Linked DNA regions of Homo sapiens: all the other regions are linked to region 1. The links are contacts of gene promoters, found by promoter capture Hi-C in human tissues and cell types (Jung and others, 2019). All regions are on one chromosome and are shown on one strand. Each heading gives the region's core, a stretch centred on a gene start or on the middle of the fragment in contact. The rest is flanking DNA. Distances are from core to core; before and after follow the strand shown.

Region 1 (3,985 bases), core at 971-3,470:
CAGTGGCGCGACCTCGCTCACTACAACCTGCGCCTCCCAGGTTCAAGCGATTCCCCTGCCTCAGCCTCCCAGGTAGCTGGGATTACAGGTGTGCACCACCACACCTGGCTAATTTTGTACTTCTAGTAGAGACAGGGTTTCGCCACATTGGCCCGACTAGTCTTGAACTACTGACTTCAAGTGATCTGCCCGCCTTGGCCTCCCAAAGTGCTGGGATTACAGGAGTGAACCATGACAACCTGCCCAAATCCTTTATTTTTAAATGTACAAATTCCCTGAGGCTATACCCTTTATCCTTCTCTATAGCTACCACCAGAAGTTGCAAATTATTGCCATATCCCCCCCCTCAGATGTTTTATTTGGTCCTTCCCTACACAGAAACCCCACAGGTACCACAATGCCTAGCAGATGAAGTCCAAAGTCTTTAGCTTAACATTTAAGACCCTGACCAACTTGACATGAGACAACCTTTTCTATGTTTTCTGGGAATTCCCCACCTCTAACCTAAGCATATCCAATTCCTTATTTTCCAAGGTAATTGGAAATAGAGAATGCAAAGGCTTCAAGTCAAAGATAATAACATTATCTGTAAGCATCGGAGTGGACTTTAAGCTAATGACTGAAAATGATTTTTCCAGCCTCTTTCTGGGACAGTATAGCGTATTGTTTAGATTGCAGGGATTAGTCAGATAGTTTGAATCCTGGGCTCCCCTACTTATTATTGGCTGCATGCCTTTGGGCAAGTTTCTAATCTTTCTGACCCAGTTTCTTTTTTCTGTAAAGGGAAGATGGGGTATCTATCTGCCTTATGGGATTAAGGATTGAACTCGATAATGTATGTAAACTTTTTTTTTTTTTTTCAGACAGAGTATCGCTCTGTTGCCCAGGCTGGAGTGCAGTGGCTCGATCTCGGCTCACTGCAAGCTCCGCCTCCCGGGTTCACGCCATTCTCCTGCCTCAGCCTCTCGAGTAGCTGGAACTACAGGCGCCCGCCACCAAGCCCGGCTAATTTTTTGTATTTTTAGTAAAGACGGGGTTTCACCGTGTTAGCCAGGATGGTCTCGATCTTCTGACTTCGTGATCTGCCCGCCTCGGCCTCCCAAAGTGCTGGGATTACAAGCGTGAGCCACCGCGCATGGCCTGTAAATTGTTTTAACACAGTAGTTAGATGGTCCATAAATGGTACCATTATTACTTTTATGATTGCTGCTCCACCTCTGAGCACATTCATACAATTCACTCAAGTCATTATTAGAGCACTAGATTGAGTGCGAGTCAGACCTGGATTCCCACAAACTTCTTTGTATGACCTCGGGCACATCCCTTCCCTGGGCCTCCGTTTCTCCATCTGTAAAATATGGATTTGTTGTCGGGGTGGGGAGGCTGCACCACGCACAGGTTAGACTAATGGATCTCTAAGGTCCTCACATCTTTAAAGCCCCAAGGGGATAAGCCACAGTGCCTCCTGTAGGGCAGTCTAAGCTTATCTTCCAGATAGGCAGGTTTGAATACCGATCCTTTTTCTTGACCTTAAGGAATTCATTCACCCTTTTCAACCTCATTTTCCCTGTTTGTAAAACAACAGCAAACGAGACAAACACACGTTACTTCCTTTCTAGCAGGGTTCCTACCCGGCGCCAAGCAAAAGTGGAATGTACCCTAAGTAGCTCTGGCCTTCTTCCTGCTCCCAAGCTTCCCAATTCCGTCCCCTGCCCCGCTGCCGCCCGCGGCTCTCCTTCCCCTTCTAGGAACGGCTCAAGCGCCTTGGGCACTCCATCGGGTTCTGCACCGAGTTCTGCATCATAAATACGACTCTCGTGTAGGATTTAAGTGTGAACTTCTGCAGGTTCTCGGACCCTGAAGCACCCGGGGCCAGACATTCCGAGCTCGCGGCGGTGGAAGGCACGCAAAAGGGCGAACCGAGACGACTCCAGGACGCTGAGGCAGCGCAGGCCCCACCCGGCCCCGCCCTGCCCCGCCCTGTCCCGGCCGGCTTTCCAGTACTAGTCCTCTGGCGCCGGCTCCCAGCCCCTCTCGTACCCTTCAAATCGCGCTCCGCCGCTAGACTCTCGTGATAGCTGAGACTTTCCCCGGAAGGCCCGCCCCCTTCGCCGGAGAGGCCAATGGGCTAGGGCAACGGTTGCGACGGTTGGATTTTGAAGGAGCCAATAGGCGCTCGGAGCGGAGAGTTTAAGAGGCGTAAGCCAGGCGTGTTAAAGCCGGTCGGAACTGCTCCGGAGGGCACGGTGAGAGGTGGTGGGGCTGAGCCGAGGTGGGGCCGTGGCCAGGGGGAGGGGGTGCTAGGCCGGAAGGGGCTGCAGCCGAGGGTGGCCCTGATTTTGTGGCCGGCCAGGAGCGAAGGGGTCCCTTTCTGTCCCCTGAGCACCGTCGCCTCCTTTCCTCCAGGGCTCCGTAGGCACCAACTGCAAGGACCCCTCCCCCTGCGGGCGCTCCCATGGCACAGTTCGCGTTCGAGAGTGACCTGCACTCGCTGCTTCAGCTGGATGCACCCATCCCCAATGCACCCCCTGCGCGCTGGCAGCGCAAAGCCAAGGAAGCCGCAGGCCCGGCCCCCTCACCCATGCGGGCCGCCAACCGATCCCACAGCGCCGGCAGGACTCCGGGCCGAACTCCTGGTCAGTGAGGTGCCAAAGGAACTGAGTGAGAGCAGCCTTCATACTTTCTCCCTGGGGAGCCTGGTCAGACTGTCTTCTCTTTCTCCGCCCCAGGCAAATCCAGTTCCAAGGTTCAGACCACTCCTAGCAAACCTGGCGGTGACCGCTATATCCCCCATCGCAGTGCTGCCCAGATGGAGGTGGCCAGCTTCCTCCTGAGCAAGGAGAACCAGCCTGAAAACAGCCAGACGCCCACCAAGAAGGTATGTGTCCCAGAGGGGCTTAAGGCACGGGACCTGACTGTTCTTTGGATAATACCATCTTGCTCCTTCACTACCCTTTATGCCAGGAACATCAGAAAGCCTGGGCTTTGAACCTGAACGGTTTTGATGTAGAGGAAGCCAAGATCCTTCGGCTCAGTGGAAAACCACAAAATGCGCCAGAGGGTAAGACCCGAAGTTCCTGGTTCCTGGAGGGAGGTGTCAGTTCATCTCCAGGGCTGAGCACAGATATCTGTCTCCTCTTCCTATCTAAGATTGAGGGCAAGGGAGGTGTTGATTTTCCCAGCGTCTAGACTCACTCCGTTGCCACAGGTTATCAGAACAGACTGAAAGTACTCTACAGCCAAAAGGCCACTCCTGGCTCCAGCCGGAAGACCTGCCGTTACATTCCTTCCCTGCCAGACCGTATCCTGGATGCGCCTGAAATCCGAAATGACTATTGTAAGTGCATCCTTATCCTCGCCTCATGCATGGAGAAAGAGGGCCTGGGACCACACAAACAAGGAAGCTCATGCTCTTCTCTCCACCTCTGACAGACCTGAACCTTGTGGATTGGAGTTCTGGGAATGTACTGGCCGTGGCACTGGACAACAGTGTGTACCTGTGGAGTGCAAGCTCTGGTGACATCCTGCAGCTTTTGCAAATGGAGCAGCCTGGGGAATATATATCCTCTGTGGCCTGGATCAAAGAGGGCAACTACTTGGCTGTGGGCACCAGCAGTGCTGAGGTGCAGGTGAGACGTGTCCAGTGCTGTCATTCTCACCAGTCCCAATGGGCTTGCACAGCTGGAGGATATTAATGCCAAGTCCCAATCTCTGATCCTAGTGGGCTTCTCTCTCTAGCTATGGGATGTGCAGCAGCAGAAACGGCTTCGAAATATGACCAGTCACTCTGCCCGAGTGGGCTCCCTAAGCTGGAACAGCTATATCCTGTCCAGGTCAGTGGTTTTTGTTGGTCTATGGTAGTCTGATATTTGCCCACCCTCCCCTTGACTGTACACCCCTGAACTGAACCAGCTCTGGCTTGCTTGCATTTGGTGCTGCCACAGAACCTGATTCCCTTCTTTCCTCCTCCAGTGGTTCACGTTCT
Region 2 (3,985 bases), core at 409-2,908, 670 kb after region 1:
CACTTGGGCATGCTCAGTGTCGCCCATTAGTCCCTAGAACCAGTCCCCTCACCCACTACTCTCCAACCTTCTGATGCTCCCTCACTTTGGCAGTCTTTAACCTTTCAGGTTTTTCTCTTTCCCCACTCCTCGCCCTGCAGCCTTTATTTCCCAACGGCCGCACCCTCACGCTCCTTTCAGCGGAGAAATAGACCGCGCTTTGTGCGGAAGCTGTCAGCGAGCAAGCGTCCCGTCTCCTTTAAGAGTGATCCGCGAGGGGGTGTGGCTTGCGGAGAGCAGGCCCGAAAGGGGGTGCGGCTCCTTTAAGTATCCGCCGGCCCGAGGCGCGGAGGCCTCCGGCCGGCGGGCAGGGGCGCGGTCGGTCTGGGAGCAGCGGCACCGCCCGCAGCGTCCCGGTTCCTCGAAGTGGGGCGCGTCCGCTTTAATCGGGGAGAGAGATGTGGGGGCACGGGCGTTACATCAGCCGCCACGTGTGGGCCTAAGCTGGCGTGGAGGCGGCGGCCCCGCCCCCGGCCCCTGCGGTGGAAAAGTACCGGGGCGCCGAGGTCCCCGCCCCACGGCCCCGCCCCCGGGCCGGCACCGGCCCCTCCCGGCCCTCCGGGCAAGCCCCACTCTCCCGCCCGGCCCGGCCCCGCCGCCTGCTCGAGATCTGCAGTGGCTGCCGGGTGCGGAGCGCCGGCCGGGGGTGGGCTCTCCAGGGCTGCTAGGCCCCTGCCCTCACCTGCGGCCGCCCGGCCCCGCCCTAGGTGTGCCGGTAATGAGGGTTGGGGTGGGGAGGGCACGGATTCTTCCCAGGGTAGCAACCCCCAGAGAACTCCCGGCTCGCTCGCAGTCCCTTCCCAAAGCCGCGGCCAGAGCGCGGACAAAGAGAGGCTGAGTGCGCCAGGACTCTCCCGCGCGGCTTCCCGGGTCCCGCGGGCGCACGGGCACTGGAACCGGCACCGGGAGGGCAGATAGGGAGGCAGGCCGGCTGGAGGGGCCAGATAGGCAGCCAGGCTGGCGGGCGCTGAGAGGCGATGGAGCGAGCGGGAGCCCGCACGCTGGGTGCAGGCACGGCCGACTGTCGACCCCTGCAGGCCCCCAGAGCGCAGAACCACTGGCTCCTCGGACGGACAGTGCCACGCTCTGGCTCCGGCGCTACCCGCACAGCCTGCGCCCGCCGCCCCCGATCGAACCGGCGTCTGGCGCCCCCCCGCCACCCCACGCAGGAGCTCCCCCCACTTCCCTCTCCCTCCCGCTTCAGCTCCTTGGTGACAGCGGTGACACCCAGACGCGCGCACCTACCCCGATCTTTGCGGCGAGACAGACATCCCGGTGCGTGCACCCACACTCTTACCCACAGATGCCCGCATACATGCGCGATCACACACACACACACACACACACACACACACGCACACGCTGGTCCTGGGGCTCAGCCCCGCGGAGCCGCCGAACACTCAGACCGACGGCAGGACAGACGGAGGCGCGGGCCCCAGCGTCCCTTCCCCCAGCCCCCTTACCATGCTGCAGCCCCCGGCCCAGGCGTGCTGGGTCCGCACCGCGGTGCGCCCAGGTGGCTTTCTTAAAGGGAAAGTTGCATCAGCCTCCCGAGGCTCTGTGCCGCGCCGAGTTCGCCCGCCCCGCCGCGCCGCTCGCAGCTCTTCCACAGCCTGTTGTGTTTTGGTTTCGGGGAGGCGGGGGCTAAGAGTTTGGTGAAAGTTTGAAGAGTGGAGAAGGCTTGGGAGATCTAGCCAAGTCCCTCCCCTACCCGAACGGCTCCCCTGGCCGTCCTCCCCTCTCCATCCCATCCCCTCCTCCCGTGCCGACTTCTCAGGCTCCTCCTCCCAGGGAATAAAATTACAAGTCTCTCCAGCTTTCAGATGATTGATCCCCACGAACCCCTGGGAGTGAGCGCCACAAAGGAGTCCCCTTCTCCGCCCCTGCCTCGCTGCCCTCCAGCTGGGGCCCTTGAGCAAGCAGATGTGGGCCCCTTCGGGCTAGGCTGGAATGAAGCCAGAAGGCCTGGGGCACTATGGGGGGCTGAGGCTGGAGTTAGCCCTCCAGGCCCCTGGCCTTCTGCGCCTGCGTTTCCCCTAGAGAGAAGTCAGAGCAAATTCCATTCCCTTTGGAGCAGAGCCGCTAGAGACTGTGGGCATTGCTGGGTAAGGCCTAGGTCCTACTCCTTGGAACTGGAGGGCTCGGGGTAGCCCTTTCTCAAATTTCCCTCCTGGACCACCGGCTTGGTCAGCTCTACTTTTGAGGTGGTGTTACAGGGGCTGCAGACACCAACCTGGGATCCCTCCTCCTTCCATGGTGAGACAGACCTGGGTTACAATCTCAGCTAAAAAAGAGTCTTTGCCAAAAGGAGCATGGTGAGCCTCGGTTTCCTCCTCTGTGAAACAGAGAGAAGGGGCTAAGGAAATGCATGTGTGTGTATATAAAGCCCATTGCTCCAGGCTGCCTCTGGGGAGTGGTGGCTGGCATTTGGAATGAGCCTCCCACATTTGCATACCTTGTGAGAGCCACCACCTTTCATGGAGAGTGGCCAGTTAGTTCTGTCAGAGGAACTGGTTTTTGCCCCAACCTGAGTAGGGCATCTGCTCAGGGAAGGGGCCCAGCCCACAGAGGCAATTTCTACTTTGGACCCTGAGTCCTCACCATTTTCTGGCCAGGAAACAGTTTAATTTTTTTCCTTGGGACAGTCAGCCTCCAAGAAGCGAGTGCACACATGCCAAACTCACGTGAAACCAATTGTTGAGTGAGATTCCAGTTTATTAATTTATCAGAGGCACTGAACAAGATAACAGGCATCAAGCCCAGGCATTCCCTGAAATGCGAGCTCTCTCAGGCCACACGCGGTCCATTCCACAAACCTTCCTCAGAGCCAAAGTACAAAGACAGCTCTCTGTTGTCTCCTATTCACATTGGACTCCTGATCAGATCTGGGAAGACACCTTAGTCTTATCAGCGAGATTATTTTCACTTTTACTTTGTCCCCAAACCTAGTAGGTATAGCATGTTTGGGATTTTTAGTCTCCTACAAGCCAAGTGCAGGTGTTTCTTGCGTGAGTTGTGTGCACACACACCTGGATCTAGGCAACCTGTTGTGTCTGTGCCCCCAGACACCTGAGCCCCGATTGTGTATTTGTGTAGGTACATCTGTGGAAGACTGATTGTGTGCACTGCAGCAGGTCTGTGTAGTTATGTGTGTGCTCAATTCCTGGGACTGGGCAGATGGGGTCCAAGCCCTCTATATCTCTCCTGCCAGGACGTAACTTCCTCCATAAGTTTTTTTTAGGATCTTCCTCCTTGCCTCCTCGCTGGGGCTCATCAAAAGGGATACCACCCCAGGGAAGGCAGATGGAGGATGTCGAAGAGGCCCCCAAGTAGAGGAAGGCGGACAAGGAAGAGTATGAAGGGGAAAAGGCCTCCCTCCTTCTCCCTTCCAGCAGTAGGCTGGGGTGGGGACAGGCCTAGAAGAGGGCACTGAGCGCTAAGAACACTCAGTGAAGATTCCGAGAGTTTTCATGGCTCAGGGAATCCATATGAAGGGAGGCAGGTGTAGGGTGCTGCAAGCCAGACTTCCAGGATGCCCTCAGGCCTAGGGGCTTGGGGCCTGGGCTGTTAGAAGAGAGGAGGATGGGTGCTCAGGGGCCAGCCCTCTGAGGCTCCGTCAGAAAGAGGAAGGCTTGGGGACTAACCTAGGGACAGGGACGTGGGGTGAAGAGAAAATTTTCCTTGGAGTGTTTAGGGAGATTGGGGATGTTGGCCAGAGGGCTTTATTAGACTAACACTGGCATAGCTCAAAGTCTATTTGTATACATAGAAACAGATTCATGGATATGTGTGTTTTACCCACCTTGAACCAGAAAGAGCTTCAGGAAACCACACAGCTGTGTCCTGAGGAGACACTTGTGAGAAAGATTCTGGTTTGAAAAGTCATCTTCCTGAGACAGGGACTAGAGAGGCTGTTTTTTTCCAATCAGAATGAGGCCCAAAGGAG
Region 3 (3,985 bases), core at 1,101-3,600, 510 kb before region 1:
GATTTTTGGGTGTGTATTGCAGAAGCCTCGTCGCTTTCAAGTCACATCATATATGCGATCTGGCCTAACCATGGAGATATTGGTTATCAGTTTGCAGATGAATACACAGTTCTATCCAACAGAAACTGTATCTTTCTGTTTGTCAGAAGTTCTCCGTTAGTTCCTGTATTAGTCAAGGTTTTCCAGAGAAACAGAATCAATATATATTGGGGCAGGGGGGCGGTGGTTATTATAAGGAATTGGCTCACGTGATTATGGAGGCGGTTAAATCCCAAGATCTGCAGGATAAGTCAGCAAGATGGAGTCCCATGAGAGCTGATGGTTTAGTTCCAGTCTGATGGCAGCAGGCTTGACGCCAAGGAAGAGATGATGTTTAATTCAAGTCCGAAGGCAAGGAAAAAGCTGATGGTCCTGTCCAAAGGCTATTAGGCAGGAAGAATTCTCTTAGGGCAGAGTTAGCTCTTTTGTTCTATTCAGGCCTTCAACTGATTCAGCAAGGCCCGCCCACATTTGGGAGGACAGTCTGCATTACTCAGTCTACTGATTTGAATGTTAATGTCATTGAGAAACACCCTCACAGGAACACTCAGAATAATGTTTGACCAAATAGCTGGGCATCTTGTGACCCAGTTAAGTGGATACATAAGATTAACTATCACAGTGACTCAGTGGAATTTTTTGTTTGCTTTTGTACAGTTTTAAAATAAAAGTTTGGTATTTGTGTTTTGGTATGCTGTTATTTTCATTGTGAATGAGGAGTTGTGGGGAAGGTAAGAGATTGGTTTCCAAAGAGCTTTGAGTCCCCCAAGGCAAGGTTTAGCCACCGTTCATACTAAAGCCATAGTTTTATTCCTGAGTCTGCTCTCTAGTATTTTATTTTATCAATTTATAAACAAATAGTGTTCATAAGGCACACATATTTCACTCAACCATATTCAGTTCCAAACATGCATTCCTGAATATCCCAATCTTAAAACTAACTCACATTGTCAGCTTGTGGAGGCAGAATACATGCATACATATACACATACATACATGAATATACATATAATATACACACACATATGCATACATACACATATACACATGTATACATGTATGTGTATATACATATCTGTACTACATAGGTGTATATATATGTATATGTATTTAGCATGTATGCACGTGTATATGTATACACATATATACATATGTATGTATAATACATATTCACACATGTATGCATGTATATACACATGTATACATTAGTATATGTATATACACATGTATGTGTATTATACATGTATATATGTACATACATATCAGTCTACTGATTTGAATATTAATGTCATCAAGAAATAACCTCAATATATGTATGTATTATAACCTTACAACTATATAAAACATACATACATATATATGTATATATGTATACACATACACATGCATGAGAATATATGTATGTATATATAATATCCTCACAGTAATTCTGCCAGGGATTTTATGGGGGAGGGAGTTGGTACTCCAAATGGCTAGGTGGTAGAGCCAGAGTTTTATACTTGGTTTATCTAGCTCTGAAGGCAATGCTCCTTGTTCTTTGCACTGAAACATTGTGCAGATACGAGAAGCCTGTAGTTTACGTATTTCATTAGCCTTTTATTATTTTAAAAAATAAAACCTGAAAAAAAAGACCTAGTCCTGGATACTTTGGTGATCTTGTTGTGTCTGGATTGACGAACACGTGTCAGGCTTAATTAGGGATGCACGCGGAACCCGGGAAAATCCCTGCTCAGGGGGGCTGGAAGACCTGGAGGTTGATCCTTGAACAGGGTACTTTTAGCTTCTCCGATAAGGAGATTGGGTTATTTTATCTTTAAACTCCCTTCCAGCTCTACCCTCCTTTGATTTTAAGTTATAAACCTTGAGTGAGGTGCCAGACTCTAGGCTTCGTTGGACGTCTACAGGACGGTCAAGGATTACCAACTCAAAGTAAAGAAGGAAATTTGAGTACTTGCCCCCTTGGAGGTTGTGTAGGTTGGCTATACAGATTCTACAACTTCCCAGACGAGTGGCCCTGAGACTTGGGGCTGAACGCGCGAGCACGGAAAGAAATCCCACCGTAGGACGGAACCCAGTCTCTTCAGCTCCATCCTAAACTTCGCAAGTTTTCTCTGAGTCTACGCGCTTCCTTAGGACTACAACTCCCAGCATGCCACGCCAGCGGTCAAAGCTTATTGGTGGTCCTGCCAGGTCGCTTGCGTTGTGGCAGTCATGGTAGCCAATGGAAATAAAGAATTATCCCAAGAAACCAATCCTGGAGTAGTAGGGCGGATCCTTCCTGGGTTCCGGCTCCGGCTCCAGCTCCTTCCCTCGCCTACAGAGGCGGCGCTGTCCCTGATCGAGCGGCGGGAGCGAGGTGGGTCCGGGTTGGGCCCGAGGTCGCGGGGGGAGGCGGACACGACTTCGCGGGAAACTCTGTACACGGCCACTTCCCTCTCACCGAGGATCTGGATGCTGCTGCTTTGCTCCCTGGACCGAGTGGGAAGCCAAGGGGCCTTGTGGTCCCTCCGCCGCGACCCTCGCCCTGGCCCCCGGCCCACGCAGCCAGGTGGCTGTCCCCAACCCATTCCCCGGCCCTTCTGTTGGGTTTGAGTATACAGCCTTCCTGCCGCTGACCATACGTTTAGGATCAGCCCCTCCTCCTCTCCCACCTCTCTGGCCCCAAGCCCGCCGGCAATCTCTGAAACCAGCTCTTGTACCCTTGGACCTCCGCCATTGGCTTCTCCCCGCCCCGCAACACACAACTCAGCTCTTGGGCCCTGGCCTGTGACACTTCTGGCAGCCTTTGCTTCCTCTTCCCTGACCGTCTCCTGCGACCCTCTGACTTCCTTGGTCCTCCTGTATCTCTGACCCGTTATCTAGCTTCCCTGTACAATTACCCTGTTAGCACCTTGCTCTTGGTCTTTCATAGCTCCTCTCTCCTCTTCCTCCCTGCAGCCCTTGACTTGGCCCCAAAGACCTGTAACTTCGGACCTCCATACCGCACTATGGCTTGGCCCCTTGCCTTTAACCTAGGCGCTTCACCTTCATCATCTGTGATCACTAGCCCCATCTTCTTGGCTCTTAACTTCTTAGACCTGGCCCCTCCTCCACTTCTCAGCCCCTTCCACCGTTGCTTCTCTCTGTGCAGCTGAGCCACCAGGAAGACAAAGCCCAATAGACCCCTTTTCCCCCCAGATCTCTGCAGTGTGATATGAAAGTGCCTCTGTACTTCAGCTGCACTGTCTTCTCAGTAGGTAGTTGCCTCTTTATCTCTGCAAGTCCCAGTCTTACCCATCCTGCAAACCTTAGGTCAAATACCTACTCCTCCTTGAAACTTCTCAGCCCTGATTTCATCAGGGAGATACATCTGTATCATGTGAACTTCAGTGGTACTGTTTTTATTTCCTTCCTTCCCGTCTTCTCTCCTTTTTTCCTTCAGTAATAGTATAATGGTTAAAAGCACTGACTTTGAAGTGATGGGCATAGGCCCCAGTTCTGCCACTTACTTGCTGTGTGCCCTTGGGCAAGATACTTAATTTCTCTGAGCCTCAGCTTTCTCATCTCTAAAATAAGGATGATGTGAAGTGAAATTAGATGATTCATATATGGTCCTTAGTCCACAGCTTAGCACTTGATTCGAGCTTTAAAAAAATGTTAATAATGTGCCAGGTGCTGTGTTAGACACTGAGGAGTGGGTACAAAGGTGACTAAGGCACAGTTCCTGCCCCTGTCCCCTGAACTTAACCTTCTGCATTGTATGACAATTTCTGGAGTTCACGGTCTGTTTCAGTACACTGTATCACAAACTGAGTGGTAATCATAATCCTAAATCCTTTTGCTCTTACATTGACCTAGCATCCAGCCCCGGGTAGAGCTGGAACTTGGTAAATTATAGGTTCTCAGAATAGCAGTTTCGGAAGTGAGTGGAGGCTGAATAGCTCATTGCGTAGAGATACTGTAGCTG

What was found. Contacts are between HindIII fragments. The study calls those that stand out against the background at their distance.
Region 2: a contact is called between the fragment with the promoter of SLC6A9 here and the fragment with the promoter of CDC20 in region 1, in 1 of the 25 tissues and cell types used here (psoas muscle).
Region 3: the fragment with the promoter of ZNF691 here is called in contact with the fragment with the promoter of CDC20 in region 1 in 1 of the 25 tissues and cell types used here (hippocampus).

The regions. Positions count from the first base shown.
Region 1 is chr1:43,356,761-43,360,745 of GRCh38, forward strand. CDC20 (cell division cycle 20) reads left to right here and starts at 2,221. Exons shown (of 11, transcript NM_001255.3): 1 at 2,221-2,246; 2 at 2,407-2,636; 3 at 2,730-2,878; 4 at 2,965-3,061; 5 at 3,209-3,337; 6 at 3,433-3,629; 7 at 3,739-3,833; 8 at 3,973-3,985. The coding sequence starts at 2,456. CDC20-DT (CDC20 divergent transcript) reads right to left here and starts at 1,913. Exons shown (of 4, transcript NR_183650.1): 1 at 1,790-1,913; 2 at 1,282-1,348; 3 at 1,043-1,140. RefSeq lists enhancers at 990-1,498, 1,610-1,669, 2,009-2,517 and silencers at 1,960-2,069, 2,260-2,409. The HindIII fragment of the contact is 17,818 bases long and covers 1-3,985 here.
Region 2 is chr1:44,029,804-44,033,788 of GRCh38, forward strand. It overlaps SLC6A9 (solute carrier family 6 member 9), which reads right to left and starts at 1,659. Exons shown (of 14, transcript NM_001024845.3): 1 at 1,503-1,659. LOC107984948 (a long non-coding RNA gene) reads left to right here and starts at 611. Exons shown (of 2, transcript XR_007066054.1): 1 at 611-746. LOC124904168 (a long non-coding RNA gene) reads right to left here. Exons shown (of 4, transcript XR_007066055.1): 3 at 3,842-3,985; 4 at 2,740-2,924. RefSeq lists enhancers at 1-151, 793-1,389 and silencers at 261-810, 1,131-1,200. The HindIII fragment of the contact is 16,348 bases long and covers 1-3,985 here.
Region 3 is chr1:42,844,263-42,848,247 of GRCh38, forward strand. It overlaps ZNF691 (zinc finger protein 691), which reads left to right and starts at 2,351. Exons shown (of 4, transcript NM_001242739.2): 1 at 2,351-2,395. ZNF691-DT (ZNF691 divergent transcript) reads right to left here and starts at 2,152. Exons shown (of 5, transcript NR_186083.1): 1 at 1,995-2,152; 2 at 249-422. It overlaps ERMAP (erythroblast membrane associated protein (Scianna blood group)), which reads left to right. Exons shown (of 12, transcript NM_001017922.2): 12 at 1-729. RefSeq lists enhancers at 1,888-2,157, 2,318-2,387. The HindIII fragment of the contact is 6,395 bases long and covers 1,039-3,985 here.